Linked DNA regions of Homo sapiens: all the other regions are linked to region 2. The links are contacts of gene promoters, found by promoter capture Hi-C in blood cells and fetal thymus (Javierre and others, 2016). All regions are on one chromosome and are shown on one strand. The core of a region is centred on a gene start or on the middle of the fragment in contact, and the rest is flanking DNA. Distances in the headings are between cores, read along the strand shown.

The links. Contacts are between HindIII fragments. The CHiCAGO score rates a contact against its expected background, and 5 or more counts as called.
Region 1: a contact is called between a fragment that was not itself captured here and the fragment with the promoter of ANO7 in region 2, in 2 of 17 cell types (naive CD8 T cells and total B cells). The highest score is 5.5, in naive CD8 T cells.
Region 3: a contact is called between the fragment with the promoter of THAP4 here and the fragment with the promoter of ANO7 in region 2, in 11 of 17 cell types (erythroblasts, total CD4 T cells, total B cells and 8 more). The highest score is 13.3, in erythroblasts.
Region 4: a contact is called between a fragment that was not itself captured here and the fragment with the promoter of ANO7 in region 2, in 5 of 17 cell types (M2 macrophages, endothelial precursors, total CD8 T cells and 2 more). The highest score is 7.1, in M2 macrophages.
Region 5: a contact is called between a fragment that was not itself captured here and the fragment with the promoter of ANO7 in region 2, in 1 of 17 cell types (endothelial precursors). The highest score is 6.1, in endothelial precursors.

The regions. Positions count from the first base shown.
Region 1 is chr2:241,583,507-241,586,206 of GRCh38, reverse strand. It overlaps THAP4 (THAP domain containing 4), which reads left to right. Exons shown (of 6, transcript NM_015963.6): 6 at 1,482-1,802. The coding sequence ends at 1,601. It also overlaps the pseudogene RNA5SP122. Among named protein-coding and RNA genes, the nearest start is that of BOK-AS1, 26 kb to the right of the region's middle. RefSeq lists an enhancer at 1,380-1,908. The HindIII fragment of the contact is 4,093 bases long and covers 1-2,700 here.
Region 2 is chr2:241,187,200-241,189,934 of GRCh38, reverse strand. ANO7 (anoctamin 7) reads right to left here and starts at 1,258. Exons shown (of 25, transcript NM_001370694.2): 1 at 1,169-1,258. It overlaps LOC105373971 (a long non-coding RNA gene), which reads left to right and starts at 1,513. Exons shown (of 3, transcript XR_924064.3): 1 at 1,513-1,659. RefSeq lists enhancers at 620-1,303, 1,304-1,988. The HindIII fragment of the contact is 15,628 bases long and covers 1-2,735 here.
Region 3 is chr2:241,635,593-241,638,407 of GRCh38, reverse strand. THAP4 (THAP domain containing 4) reads left to right here and starts at 1,250. Exons shown (of 6, transcript NM_015963.6): 1 at 1,250-1,467. The coding sequence starts at 1,391. It overlaps ATG4B (autophagy related 4B cysteine peptidase), which reads right to left and starts at 715. Exons shown (of 13, transcript NM_013325.5): 1 at 684-715. The coding sequence starts at 693. RefSeq lists silencers at 258-397, 438-627, 648-697, 1,068-1,417, 1,448-1,517 and 1 more and an enhancer at 167-1,094. The HindIII fragment of the contact is 17,924 bases long and covers 1-2,815 here.
Region 4 is chr2:240,881,350-240,884,242 of GRCh38, reverse strand. No RefSeq gene overlaps it. Among named protein-coding and RNA genes, the nearest start is that of MAB21L4, 13 kb to the left of the region's middle. The HindIII fragment of the contact is 451 bases long and covers 1,328-1,778 here.
Region 5 is chr2:240,845,405-240,848,104 of GRCh38, reverse strand. No RefSeq gene overlaps it. Among named protein-coding and RNA genes, the nearest start is that of AGXT, 22 kb to the left of the region's middle. The HindIII fragment of the contact is 653 bases long and covers 990-1,642 here.

The sequences.
Region 1 (2,700 bases), core at 201-2,700, 400 kb before region 2:
TGGCTCACTGCAAGCTCCGCCTCCTGGGTTCACGCCATTCTCCTGCCTCAGCCTCCTGAGTAGCTGGGACTACAGGCACCCGCCACCACACCCGGCTAATTTTTTTTGTATTTTTAGTAGAGACGGGGTTTCACCCTGTTAGCCAGGATGGTCTCGATCTCCTTACCTCGTGATCCGCCCGCCTCGGCCTCCCAAAGTGCTGGGATTACAGGCGTGAACCACCGTGCCCAACCTCAGGGTGCTTTTTTTCTTTCTTTTTCTTTTTCTTTTTTTTTTCTTTTTTTTTTTTTTTTTGAGAAGGAGTCTTGCTCTGTCACCCAGGCTGAAGTGCAGTGGCATGATCTCGGCTCACTGCAACCTCCACCTCTTGGGTTCAAGCAATTCTGCTGCCTCAACTTCCCGAGTAGCTGGGACTACATGTGCATACCACCATGCCCGGCTGCGCCTCTCCTCCTAGATGGACACTGAATTCCAGTGTTTGTCCCTCCAGCTCCATGAGTCTGAGAAGGCCCCACTTAGCTTCTCAGCCTCTTAGCTACCACATCCCTCTCAGCCTCCACCCCTTGAACCCCTTGACTTCCGGGCAGCAAAAGCATCGGGGCCAGTTGCTCCAAATTGGGTCTCACCTCCACACTTCCTTCTCTTTGGGGTGCTGGTCCTCGCTGACTTGGTGGTTCTCTGACACCTTTAAAGAAACTTCTTAAAACCTGGGTTGTTATCTGCAGGAGGGTTGGTCAGTTACAGAGTAGTCAGCCATGGCCATAAGCAGAACTCCGTTTCATCCACTTCTGGTGCCCCCCACCCCACATGACCCCCCACACATCTGGGGCACTAGAGAGATAGTGCCCATCAGAGAATTGTCTTTTGACAGTGGTCACTCTCACAATTTGCCGGCAAACATTCTGGGCATATAGGGCTGACTCATTCGGGACTTAGCTGCCATAGGCTTGGATTCTTGTTGGAAACAGCTGCTATAATTTATTCTGATGAATTACTGTTCCAAAGATGGTATTTCTGAGCTTTCCAAGAACACACTGGACATCAGTTCTAGTTACAGTGAAAGTGGGAGGCAGTGGAGAAGGGAAGCACTGGAAGCTCAGCGCTTGTCTGATCAGGTATATGATTTGTAGAGACCAAAAAAAGGTGACTTCTCCCATCCAAGTACTAACCAGGCCCGACCCTCCTTAGCTTCCGAGGTCAGACGAGATCAGGTGCGTTCAGGGTGGTATGGCCGTCGACAAAAAAGGTGACTTCTAAATAAACAATCCCTGTGTTCCCCTGGTGGTCTTCTGGAGGCAGCTGAAGGGCACCTGGATTGTGACATGCCCAGGGGCCCTGGGCTGTGTGTCTACCCTCCTCTGGCAGGGCCACTGCCTGGCTCACAGCCCGTGATGAGTGTGTGGCATGCAGTGGGCGCACAGGCATTGATTGAATCTTTTGAAGATAAAACTAAGCTATCTTTGTTCCATTCTCCTGCTCAGATCACCCGGAAGTTCAGGCTGAATTCTGAAGGCAAACTTGAGCAGACGGTCTCCATGGCAACCACGACACAGCCAATGACTCAGCATCTTCACGTCACCTACAAGAAGGTGACCCCGTAAACCTAGAGCTTCTGGAGCCCTCGGGAGGGCCTGGCTACTGTGCCTCAACGGTTCGGCTCCTCAACAGACAGTCCCTGCGGCAGAAGTGGGTGTGGCCGTGAGCCTCTGCAGGCTCAAGAGTGTTGTCCAGATGTTTCTGTACTGGCATAGAAAAACCAAATAAAAGGCCTTTATTTTTATGGCTGAGGATTTTGAATATTATCACTTGCGTAGGCTGTACATTTTTTTTTTATCTGCTGATGTTTGTTTTCCAAAGCGTTCCCTAAGAAATTAAGAAGGGGGCTGGGTGTGGTGGCTCACGCCTGTAATCCCAGTACTATGGGAGACCAAGGCTGGCGGATCACCTAAGGTCAGGAGTTCGAGACCAGCCTGACCAACATGGAGAAACCCCGTCTCTACTTAAAATACAAAAAATTAGCCAGGTGTGGTGGCGCATGCCTATAATCCTGGCTACTTGGGAGGCTAAGGCAGGAGAATCGCTTGAACCCAGGAGTTGGAGGTTGCAGTGAGCCAAGATCGCACCACTGCACTCCAGCCTGGGAGACAAGAGCAAGACTCTGTCTGGAAAAAAAAAAAAAAAAAAATTAAGAAGGGATGAATCTCTTTCCTTTTCTTTCTTCTTACAGTTTTGACAAGATCTAAAATATTTGTAAATCTTCTATAGAGTTGGCCGGGCGCAGTGGCTCACGCCTATAATCCCAGCACTTTGGGAGGCCAAGGCGAGGAAATGGCTTGAAGCCAGGAGTTTGGGACCAGCCTGGGCAACGTGGCAAAACCCCATCCCTACAAAAAAAAATAGAAATATTAGCCGAGTATGGTGGTCCATGCCTGTGGTCCCACCTACTCAGAAGGCTGAGGTGGGAGGATCCCTGGAGCCCGGGTGGTGGAGGTTGCAGTGAACCAAGATCACACCACTGCACTCCAACTTGGGTGACAGAGCAAGACCCTGTCTCCAAAAAAAAAAGATGGCAGTCATTTTCTCATTACTTTTAAAGAGCCGAGTCTATATTTTCCTACAGATGGAGCATTCCCAAGAGGCTAGCTGTGATCTTAACATCATCATGTAAGTTTTAGTTTGTAACTCTAATACAGCTTTCGT
Region 2 (2,735 bases), core at 9-2,508:
GCTGGGCTGGCTCGGCAGACTCTCCTGGCCATGAGCACATGGAGAACCCCCTAGCCAGCCACGAGCTCCAGGAAGAAACCAGTGCCGGGGCGGGAGCGTCTGGCAGGCCTGGCACAGCAGGCGTCTGTCTGTCCATCCAGTGAGTGCCCGTGTCCCCCAGCCCTGAATGCCGTCCACTCTGCCTGGGTACTCAGTGGAGCCTGAGAAGGCCCAGAAAGGTGGGCCTGGAGTACAGACACCTCTCCCTCTCTTATCCGTAGGGTGGAGCCATGTGAGCCAGGGACAGGAAACCCCTCAAGTCGCCTGCCTTCGCTCATGGCCTGAGGACCCAGTGCCAGGACCCATAGGCCCTGAGCTCCCCAGCAAGGCGGGCCTGATGGAGCCCGGCCTCACAACTCTTGGGGGTCCCAGCTTCCTCCCGCACCTTCGCCCCGGGGGTCTCTCTCTGTGGGAGGACAGGTGCCGTGGCTCCTAGTCTTGGGCTGGCAAAACGGGGCCAGGAGCACGACATCTGTGGCCCTGGAAGGAGAGGGTTCGAGCTGGGGCTGGCATTTGGAGCTGCGACGATGACCGGAGGGTGTGACCATGGAGGCGCCGCAGGAGGTCGGAGGGGCAGCCTTCTAGTTCTACCCTTCACTTCACATTAGCGGAGGCCCAGAGGGACAGAGACTGAGCCTGGGCCGCCTGCACCTGCCTAACCCTGAAGCCCGAGCCAGGTCTCAGTGTTAGGACTCGGCCCCGGCCCCAGGCTGGGAGCCTCACTACGGACTGTGGGGTGTTCCTGGAGGAAAGTCCCCGAGGAGTTTCGGCCACCCAGCAGCCCCTCATGCCCCCATCCTTCTGTGGTGGGCAGGCGGGCCCCTCCTCAGAGCTCTCTGCAGAAAGAATGGGGATGCCCCCCACCCCAACGAAGGGACCTGCTCCATGGGGGAGCCCCTGGGCAGGCAGGAAGCCAACCCCAGCTGGGTGTACCCCGTCCAGAGCCGCACTGAGTGTGTGTCCCTCCTCGTGCCCCAAGGGGCTTTGGGGACCAGGGCGGGCCCTGGCACTGCCTCCCCACAGGCCAGGGTGTGTGAAAGTCCCGGTGGGCTGGGGTGCCGCCCTGCCTCCCTAGAGTCCAACGCTCCACCTTCTCCCTGTGGCCCACACGTCTAGGCTGGGTCCCCACCTGGCACAGTGGCTTCCGGAAGAGGTCTCGGAGGTCATGGCCCACCTCTCAGCGTGAGCCTGGTCTCGGCAGTAGAGTCCCGTCCTCACTGCGGGACAGAGGGTGGGGAGGGGTGGCCCTTGGAGCCCCGCCCAGGCAGTGGCAGCCATTCGCATGCCCTCACCTTGCCTGCAAGTGGGCCAGGAAGCAGGCAGGGGAGGTGCCCAGCACAGCTGGCCAGGGCAAGGCTTCCCGGCTCCTGGAGCAGGATCTATCTTTGTTTAAATAGGGGGTGTGGGGCTCAGAGCTGCAGACAGAGGCAGCCCACTTGGCTGGGCTTTCACACACCCGCATGCAAATGCTGCCGTCCTCCTGGGAACCTTATTTGCTTAGAGATTTCAGGGCTGGCATCAGCTGTCATAGTTGCTGCCTTGGAGGGTCTCGAGGAGGTGGGATTCCACAGGAACAGCCACAAGTGCCACCTCTGCTGGAAGCCTTGCCAGGCAGACCTCGTAAGCTCTGTTTATGTGGGGGGAAACTGAGGCTCCTTGAGGTTACGTAGCATGTGCTGAGTGGTGGGCCAGGGTTTCACCCGGGGGCTGGGGAGATTGGGAGACCCAGATCACACTGCTGGCTCTGCTAATGCCTGAGGGGTGACCTCAGGCACATCCCATGCTCAGGGCCCCATCTGCAAAAGGACAGGAGGGGTCCTAGCCTTCCTCCCATCCTTTCCGCCCTCCTCCTCGTCCTCATTCTCCTCCTAGCCCTCCTCTTTCTCCTCCTAGCCCTCCTCCCCCTCCTCCTTTCTCCCCCTCCTCCTATCCTTTCTCCCCACCTTCCCTCTCCTCCTTCTCCTCCTATTGTTTCTCCCCCCTACTCCTCCCTCTCCTTCTCCTCCTATCCGTTCTCCCCTCTCCCTCTCCTCCTATCATTTCTCCCCCCAACTCCTCCTCCTCCTCCTCTTTCTCCCCACTCCCCCTCCTCCTATCGTTTCTCCCCCTCCCCCCCACTTCTCCCTCTCCTCTTCCTTCTCCTCCTTTCTCCCCACTCCCCTCCTCCTGTTTCTCCCCCTCCCCCCACTTCTCCCTCTCCTCCTCCTTCTCCTCCTATCCTTTCTCCCCGCCCCTCCTCTTCCCCTCTCCCTCCCCCTCCCCCTTTCCTCCTTGGTGCCTGGCAGTGTCTGAGAACCTACCACCCGTGCTCCTCGCCCTCCATGCACAACTGCACTGGGGAGCCCCAAGCTCAGCTTGCTGTTCCAGGTGCCCCCTTCTGCCTGTTGAAATCCCTCCAGGCGGACCCTCATCCTGGCTGCAGCTTTCCCTTATACCTATGCCCCTCTGTGCTTGGCACCTCCCAAGGGGCCCTGTTCTTGGACCTGTGTTGTGCCTCGGAACAGCGGGAAGGCCCTGCAGGCCGGGTTCCCTGTCAGCACCAGCAGAGCCTGGGCGGCAGGACCTTGGGGCCCTGGGCCTCAGGGCATCTGCATGAGAGGTCTCTGCTTGGCCAAGCTCAGCCTGCAGGCGCCTGAGGTGGATCCCTGGACGAGGGCTGGACTGGGGAAGTGCTCCAGAAACCAGGAAAGGAGTCG
Region 3 (2,815 bases), core at 1-2,500, 450 kb before region 2:
AAAAAAACCAACACTCCCTATACACACACACACACACTCCTTCTCTTTCTCTCTCTCTTAGGACCCCAAGAAACTAAGACCCGATGATACAAATTCACTGTTTCTCTTTCTCGTCACGGAAAAGCAGCTTGGAGAATCTACTGGTTACTAAATTGAAGACAAAAACAAAAAAGATACGTATACTGTGATGAACACGTCACGTTTCTCTCCTCCAACCTACCAATAACTTCATAAAAGTTAAAGAGCTTCCATCCCTTCACGCTCAGCTGCGGAAAGGCTACGCTTTCGCCCGCCGCTCGCGTCCCCGGCCCGGACCGCGGCCGCCCCGTTCGCCGCCGCGCCTCTCCCCGCCCGGCAGGCTCCGCCGCCCTCCACGGCCGACCTGGCGCAAGGGCCTGTGCAGCCACAACCTCCGGAGCGCTCCGGACGGGACCGGAAAAGCAGAAGCTCCAGCGCAACCGACGGCGGGTTCCGCGGCGCAGTGCGCCGCCGTCCCCCTCCCGCTCCCACCGCCCACCACCCACCAACACCGCCCCGCGCTCCCGCAGCGCCCGCCGCCCCGGCCCAGCCTGGCCCGCACCGGCGTGCCCCGAGGCGAGTCGCGGCAGCCCGACCCGAGCAGGGGAGGCCAATGATAAGGCGAGCACCTCCTGCGGAAAGACCGACCCCCGGCAACTCCTCACCTGCGTCCATCTTCCCAGTCCGGCCGCCGACTGACCCGAGCGGCGTCGCTCCGACGGGCCAGCAACGCGACGCGGCGACGGGACGCCGCGGGGGCCAATAGGTGTGCCGGCGCAGGCGGCGAAGACGATACGGCGCGCGAGCGGAAATACGCGGGAGCCGCCATTTTGGCGTACGGCCGGGCCGACGCGAGCCCCGGGGCGCCCTGCGGGCGGCATGGGGTCGTGTCGTGGGACGACGGCTGGTTCTGCTGTCCGACGGGACACTGTGTGCCATGGGTGGCGCTTCCTCCTCTTAGAGGACCCAGGAGCAGTTGTCGAGGCGGCAGAGGCGAGCTCTGTCCCCGTCCGAGCAGCCATCTTGCGGTACGGACGTGCTCGGCGCGCCCATGTCGCGGTACGGACTTGCCCCGCCGGGGCGACTCCCCCGCCCGTCTGCCCGCCTGCCGACGGACGCTGCGAGGGGCCTGCGGCGCCCCGCTGGTCCGAAGACGCCCGAACCCGCGGCTGGCGAGGACGCGGGCGGGGGCTGGGGCGGGGGCGGGCCCGCTGCGGGCGCCTGCGCCTCCATCTTGCCGTACGGCGCGGACGCCGCGGGCCGGCCCACGTCCCGAGCCGTGTCGCCGCCGCGCTCCCTCCCTCGGGGCGGTCCGCGGGCGGGCGGGCGGCTAGGGCCGGGGCCTGGCTGCGCGGCTGGGCCAAGGCCCGCGATGGTGATCTGCTGTGCGGCCGTGAACTGCTCCAACCGGCAGGGAAAGGGCGAGAAGCGCGCCGTCTCCTTCCACAGGTACGCGGGCCCCGGGCCGCCACGCCCCCGCCCCGACCCGGCCCTGCGGGGAAACTGAGGCCCCGCGGCCGGCCCGAACGCGGGGGGCGGGGGCGCCGGGCCTCGGCGGCCGGGGCGCGGGGGAGCGGGCGTGGGCGCTGTGTGACCTTGGCCCGGCCGCCGTCTCTGGGCCGGGCGCCTCGGGCAGCGCAGCCGCCCCCACCCCGGCCGCCTGGGTCCGCCCTGCGCGCGATCGATCCGGCCGGCGCCTAGGCTTCAGAAGCCGCACGCTCTGGAAGCGCAGGTCCTGGGCCGATTGTCCTGCTCGGCCGCGACTGCTGACTCTCCGGACCGCGCGGGCCGTCGGCCTGGATGTCTGCGAGCAGGAGCGACCGGGCAGACGCGACCTGCGCCTCCGTAGCTGACAGCCCCCGAGAGGGCTTTCCGGGACTGGGCCCCCGAGCCCAGGACGCGGGTACGCGCGGAGAGTCTACGGGACGGCCGGCTGGGGACGGCATCCTCCTGCGCTCCCTTAGAGCCTGGCCCGGGGCTCTCGGCCGCTTCCCACGTGGGCCCCCGCGGCAGGGCCCAAACCCCTCTAAGGCCTTGTGAGTTCAGCCTATTTCAGTGAGATTTCTGCGGATTACACGCGGGAGGCACCAGAACCGCGAACAGACTTTAAAAACCACTTTGGAGATGTTTCTGTTTTATGTTGCATGGTGTTATTTAAGTTTTAAAGACGGGAATGGCACGTGTTATTTATAGGGTTATTGAAAGTTCACAGTAGTTTGCTGTAAGTCTTAAATCATTACAATGTATTATAAGAATTAGTAACATTAGATTATTTCACAAGTCAGCCAGCGCACTTTCTTGACAATTTCCTTCAGAGCTTGTGTCCTAGAAGTTTTGTTATTGTTTTTTGAAAACGAGGCAACGTGTTGCAACGGTCTAACATGGTATGGGAGGAAAGGACATCGGAATTGGGGGTGGGGGGGTACCTTTGCAGTTGGCCTCACAGTGTTCAGAAAGGAGGTTAGAAGGTCCTGTTGCTTAGAACGGCCCAGTCCATCCTGTTAGGATTTGTCCTGGTCCACACTGGCCTCAGGTGGAGCAAATAGCAGTTAGAACTGACCACCCTGTCCCTTATGTGCACATTAGGGCCTGGTTTTTTTTTCTTTTTTTCTCTTTTTTTTGAGAAGGAGTCTCCCTCTGTCGCCCAGGCTGGAGTGCATTGGTGCGATCTCGGCTCACTGCAACCCCCGCTCCTGGGTTCAAGCTATTCTCCTGCTTCAGCCTCCCAAGTAGCTGGGATTACAGGCAAGCGCCACCACGCCTGTCTAATTTTTTTGTATTTTTAGTAGAGACAGGG
Region 4 (2,893 bases), core at 304-2,803, 310 kb after region 2:
CCTGGGTCACCCTATCATCACCTACGTGCACCTGTGCCTCTCCTTTAACCTCACACATAATCGCCTTGAGAGGGTTCCCTGGGACTAGATGACCGAGGAAGAAAATCTTGAGCCTGGTTCATGGATATGATGGCTTGGTCTTTTGGTGCGAACCAAAATGGACTTTCCCAACTCAGGGTTCCTAGAAGAGAGTGGTGAGGGAAAATCCTCCGCATGGGCAGAGTATCAAGAAATAGAAACTGGGCCAGGCGCGGTGGCTCACATCTGTAATCCCAGCACTTTGGGAGGCCGGGGTGGGTGGATCACCTGAGGTCAGGAGTTCGAGACCAGCCTGGCCAACATGGTAAAACCCCGTCTCTACTAAAAATACAAAAAATTAGCCGGGCATGGTGGCAGGTGCCTGTAATCCCAGCTACTCGGGAGGCTGAGGCAGGAGAATTGCTTGAACCTGGGAGGTGGAGGTTGCGGTAAGCCGAGATCCCACCATTGCACTCCAGCCTGGGCAACAAGAGCGAAACTCCGTCTCAAAAAAAGAAAAGAAAAGAAAAGAAAAGAAAAGAAATAGAAATCGTTCATCTCTTTTGTATGGAGAGACAAGTGGCCCAAGGAAAGAAAACACACAAACATTAAGACAAAGAGTATTACCAGAGGTAAGGGGCGATATTTCACAATGATAAAAATAGTCAGTTCATCAAGAAGGTGTAACAATCCTAACAACAGACCTTCAAAATCATGAAGATGAATGCATAAAGGGAGAAGGAGACAAGACCACATTCATGCTGGGAGAACTGAACACCCCACTCTCAGTACTTCATAGAAAAAGCAGGCAAAAAACCAAAACAAAACAAACAACAACAACAAAACCCCAGTGATACAAAGAAGACTTGAACAATGCTGTCATCCAGGCGGACCTGAGGATCTGTAGAAGCTCACACCTGACAATGACGAAGACACGTTCATCTCGTGTCCATGGGATAGTCACCGAGACTGCTGCTAGTTTATAAAACAGACTCTCAGTACATGTTCAAAATACTGAAGTCCATATACAGTATGAGCTCTGACCACAACAGACATAAATTTGAAATAAAAAACAAAAATACATTTAGAATATCCACCAAATATCTGAACATTACACAGTATAAGTCTAAATAGTCTGTGGTTCAAAGAATAAATCACAAGGAAATTATAAAATATTTTGATCTGAGTGATTCCAAAAACACCATTGATTAAAATTTGGGAGATGCAGTGAAGAAGGCGCTCAGAGGGAAATGTTTAGCTTTAAATGCTCATACTAGAAAACAAATAAATGTTTAAAATCAATTAAGCTTCTACCATAGGAAGCTAGAAAAAGAGGAGCAAATTAAAACCAAAGGAAGTAAAATAAAAGGAACAATAAGAGTGGAAATCAATACAAAGCAAACAATTGAGAAAATGATGGTAAATGTCGCTTTTTTGGAGAGACTAATAAAATCAGTAACCCCCTAGCAAGACTGATCAATGGGAGAAAAAAAAGGAGAAAATATAAATTACCAATACCAGGAATGAAACAGGGAAATCAATAGAGAGCCCGTAAGCATTAAAGGATAATAAAGGGATATTATGGATGATTTTATGCCAACACATTCAACAACTTGGAATCAAGCATGCTCTGGGTAACACAAATTACCAAAACGGGCACAAAGAGAGAGACAAAAATCTAAAGAACTCTATGTCTATGAAAACATTAGAAGTCATTAAAAAAATCCTTCCCATAAAGAAAGCTCCTGTCCCATAAAGCTTCACTGGACAATTCTACCAAAATATAAGGAAAAAAAAAATAGTCCCTATTCTAGACAAATTTAATTGATAAATAAAGGAAAAGAAAATACTGTCCAAACCACTTTACAAGACCAATGTAACCTTGCTATCAAAACCTGACAAATATATTACGAGAAAATAAGAGGTCAGTCAACAAAACAGCACATCCGTAGAATATAGAAACATAACTTTATGATCATCTCACCATAGGCAGAAAAGGTATTTGACAAAATACAACAGCTGTTAGTGATAAATACCCTCTGCAAACTAGGACAGGTGGGGACTTCCTGCCTGTGAGAGCAGGGCAGCTGCAGAAACCCCACTGCTGCCGTCAGCCTGACGCTGAGACATTAAACACGTCTCCAAGGCGAGAAGGTGCACACTCATCACTGAGATTCAGCACTGTATTTGTGGCCTACACCGTTGCAATGAAGCAAGAAAAAGTACATAAAAGGCAGAAGATGTACAACTCTCATTAGTCACAGAGAGTTTGATTATCTACTTAGAAAATTTAAAGGAATCTACAAAGAAGCTACTAGGCCTTGTGAATTTAGGAAGGTCAGAAGATACAAAATTAATATAGAAAAAAATGAGATTATATATTAAAAAATAAACAACTGGAAATGAAAATTTTCAAATGCCATTTATAACAGCATCAACAAGATCAAACACCTAGGAATAAATCTAACAAAAGATCTACGCCCAAGTGGGCTGTTTCCAGGAGGTTCTACTTGGAGGGAGAAGGGCCGCTGGGGGCCGGGGAGGCTGCCTGGTCCTGCCTCCTGGGCTGGATCAGTGGCTTTCCTGTTCCTGGGTTCCTGGCTTTCCTTAAATAACCCCCTCCCACTTTGCTGTATGTTGAAAACTAGAAACATTGCTGAAAGTAATTTTAAAATACTTACATTTCTGTTTGTGAAATGGAATTTATACTTTATTTCCATTTTCCTTAACTTGATATATAGATTTGGTGCAGTTCCTACCAAAATTTCAGCAAGCTATTCTGAAGAAATAGACAACATGAATCTAAAACGTACACAGAAATTCAAAGGATGTAGAATACAAAAAACCTTTAAAAGGGAGAAAAACATTGGAGGAC
Region 5 (2,700 bases), core at 67-2,566, 340 kb after region 2:
GTGCTCCCCACCCTCTAATGTACAGCGGTGCTCCTCACCCTCTAACGCACAATGGTGCTCCTCACCTTCTAATGTACAACGGTGCTCCTCACCCTCTAATGTACAATGGTGCTTGTCACACTCTAATGCACAACCATGCTCCTCACTCTCTAATGCCTAATGGTGCACCTCACCCTCTAAAGTACAGTGGTGCTCCTCTCCCTCTAATGCCCAACGGTGTTCCTTACCTCGAATGTACAACTGTAGTCCTTCTTCACATGGTGGCAGGAGAGAGAAGTGCAGAGTGAAGGGGGAAGAGCCTCTTATAAAACCATAGGATCTCATGATAACTCACTCACTATCATGAGAACAGGATAGGGGAAACTGTCCCCATGATTCAGTTACCTCCCACTGGGTTCTTCCCATGACATCTGGGAATTATGGGAACTACAATTCAAGATGAGATTTGGGTGGGGACACAGCCAAACCATATCACCTGTTAAGCTTCCCAAACCTTATCTATACAAATAGCCCCCAGAACTTCGGAGCACCAACTCCCACTCTTTGGAGTCTGTGCTCCCAGGTGGCTGTCCTTATGCTCTGTGCTCAAGTTAACTGTCCATTTCATCCTGTTTTCTGAATCTCTTTATTTAGGGTTGACAGGGAAGGGATTGGCCATGGTGCCTGGCACACGGGCAGCTCCTGGCAGGAGGCCAGCTGTGCCACAGGTCCGGCCAGTGCTCTCTGCAGGGCTGTGTGGCTGCCCTGCCCTGGCTGCCTGGCCAGCCCACTCTCTCAGATTCTCTCACCAGGGTCCAGACTCCCTGTCCCAGGAGTTTCTGGGCAGCGGAGAGGGAGAGAAGGAGGCAGGCCTGGAGGCTCACCTTCCCCCAGGATCTGAGCTTCCACCAGAAAGGAAACCAAAATATATCCCCCACAAATAAACTTCTTTGACATATTTTGAGATGGCTGTTCAGAGGGCCTGAAAACAGAAGCAGCCCTGCAAAGCTTTCTTTTGTGGGGAAATTTGCATCTGTATAGAAAACCTGCATTGATGCAGCCAGGCTTTTGCTGAGGCCCTCATTTTTCTGTATTTAGGAAAGATAAGCTGAGAGTCTGTATTAGCCTGTTCTCACGCTATCATAAAGAACTGCCTGAGACTGGGTAATTTTTTAAAGGAAGGAGGTTTAATTGACTCACAGTTATGCAGGGCTGGGGAGGCCTCAGGAAACTTACAATCATGGCAGAAGGGGAAGCAAAGACATCCTTCTTCACATGGAGGCAGGAAGGAGAAAGAGTGCCAAGCAAATGAGGAAGCCCCTTATAAAACCATCACATCCCATGAAAACTCACTCACTATCATGAGAAAAGCATGGCAGAAATTGCCCCCATGATTCAGTTACCTCCACCTGGTTCTGCCCTTGACACATGGGGATTATTACAATTCAAGGTGAGATTTGGGTGGGGACACAGAGCCAAACCATATCATTCCACCCCGGCCCCTCCCAAATCTCGTATCCTTACATTTCAAACACAATCATGCCCTCCCAATAGTCCCCCAAAGTCTTAGCTCATTTCAGCATTAACACAAAAGTCCAAGTCCAAAGTCTCATGTGAGACAAGGCAATTCCCTTCTGTCTATGAGCTTGTAAAATCAAAAGCTTGTTAGTTACTTCCTAGATACAATGAGGGTACAGGAATTGGGTAAATACACCCATTCCAAAAGGGAGAAATTGACCAAAACAAAGGGGCTACAGGCCCCATGCAAGTCTGAAATCCAACAGGGCAGTCATTAAACCTTAAAGTTCCAGAATGATCTCCTTTGACTCCATGTTTCACATCCAGGTCATGCTTATGCAAGAGGTGGTCTCCCATGGCCTTGGGCAACTCTGCCCCTGTGGCTTTGCAGGGTACAACACCTCCCCTCCCCCCACCTGGCTGCTCTCATGGGCTGGCTATGGAGTGTCTGCAGCTTTTCCAGATGTACAGCGCAAGGTGTCGGTGGATCTACCATTCTGGAGTTTGGAAGATGGTGGCCTTATTCTCACAGCTCCACTAGGCAGTGCCCCAGTGGGGACTCTGTGTGGGGGCTCTGACCCCACAGTCCCTTCTGTACTGCCCTAGTAGAGGTTCTCCATGAGGGCTCTGCCCTACAGCAAACTTCTGTCTGGACATTCTGGAAATTCCATACATCCTCTGAAATCTAGGGATTGGGAGCTCCCCAAACCTCAATTCTTGACTTCTGGGCACCCACAAGCCCATTAGCACATGGAAGCTGCCAAGGTTTAGGGCTTGCACCCTCTGAAGCAATGGCCTGAGCTGTATGTTGGCTCCTTTTAGCCATGGCTGGAGTGGCTGGGACGAAGGGCACTAAGTTCCAAGGCTGCACACAGCAGGGGGGCCCTGGACCCAACTCAGGAAACCCTTTTTCCCTCCTAGGCCTCTGGGCCCTTGATGGAAGGGGCTGCTGTGAAGGTCTCTGACATGCTCTGGAGACATTTTCCTCATTGTCTTGGTGATTAACACTCAGCTCTTCATTACTTATGCAAATTTCTGAAGCTGGCTTGAATTTCTCCCCAGAAAATGGGTTTTCTTTTCCATTGCATCATCAGGCTGCAAATTTTTCAAACTTTTATGCTCTGCTTCCTCTTGAACAGTTTGCCACTTAGAAATTTCTTCCACCAGATACACTAAATCATCTCTCTCAAGTTCAGCTTTCCA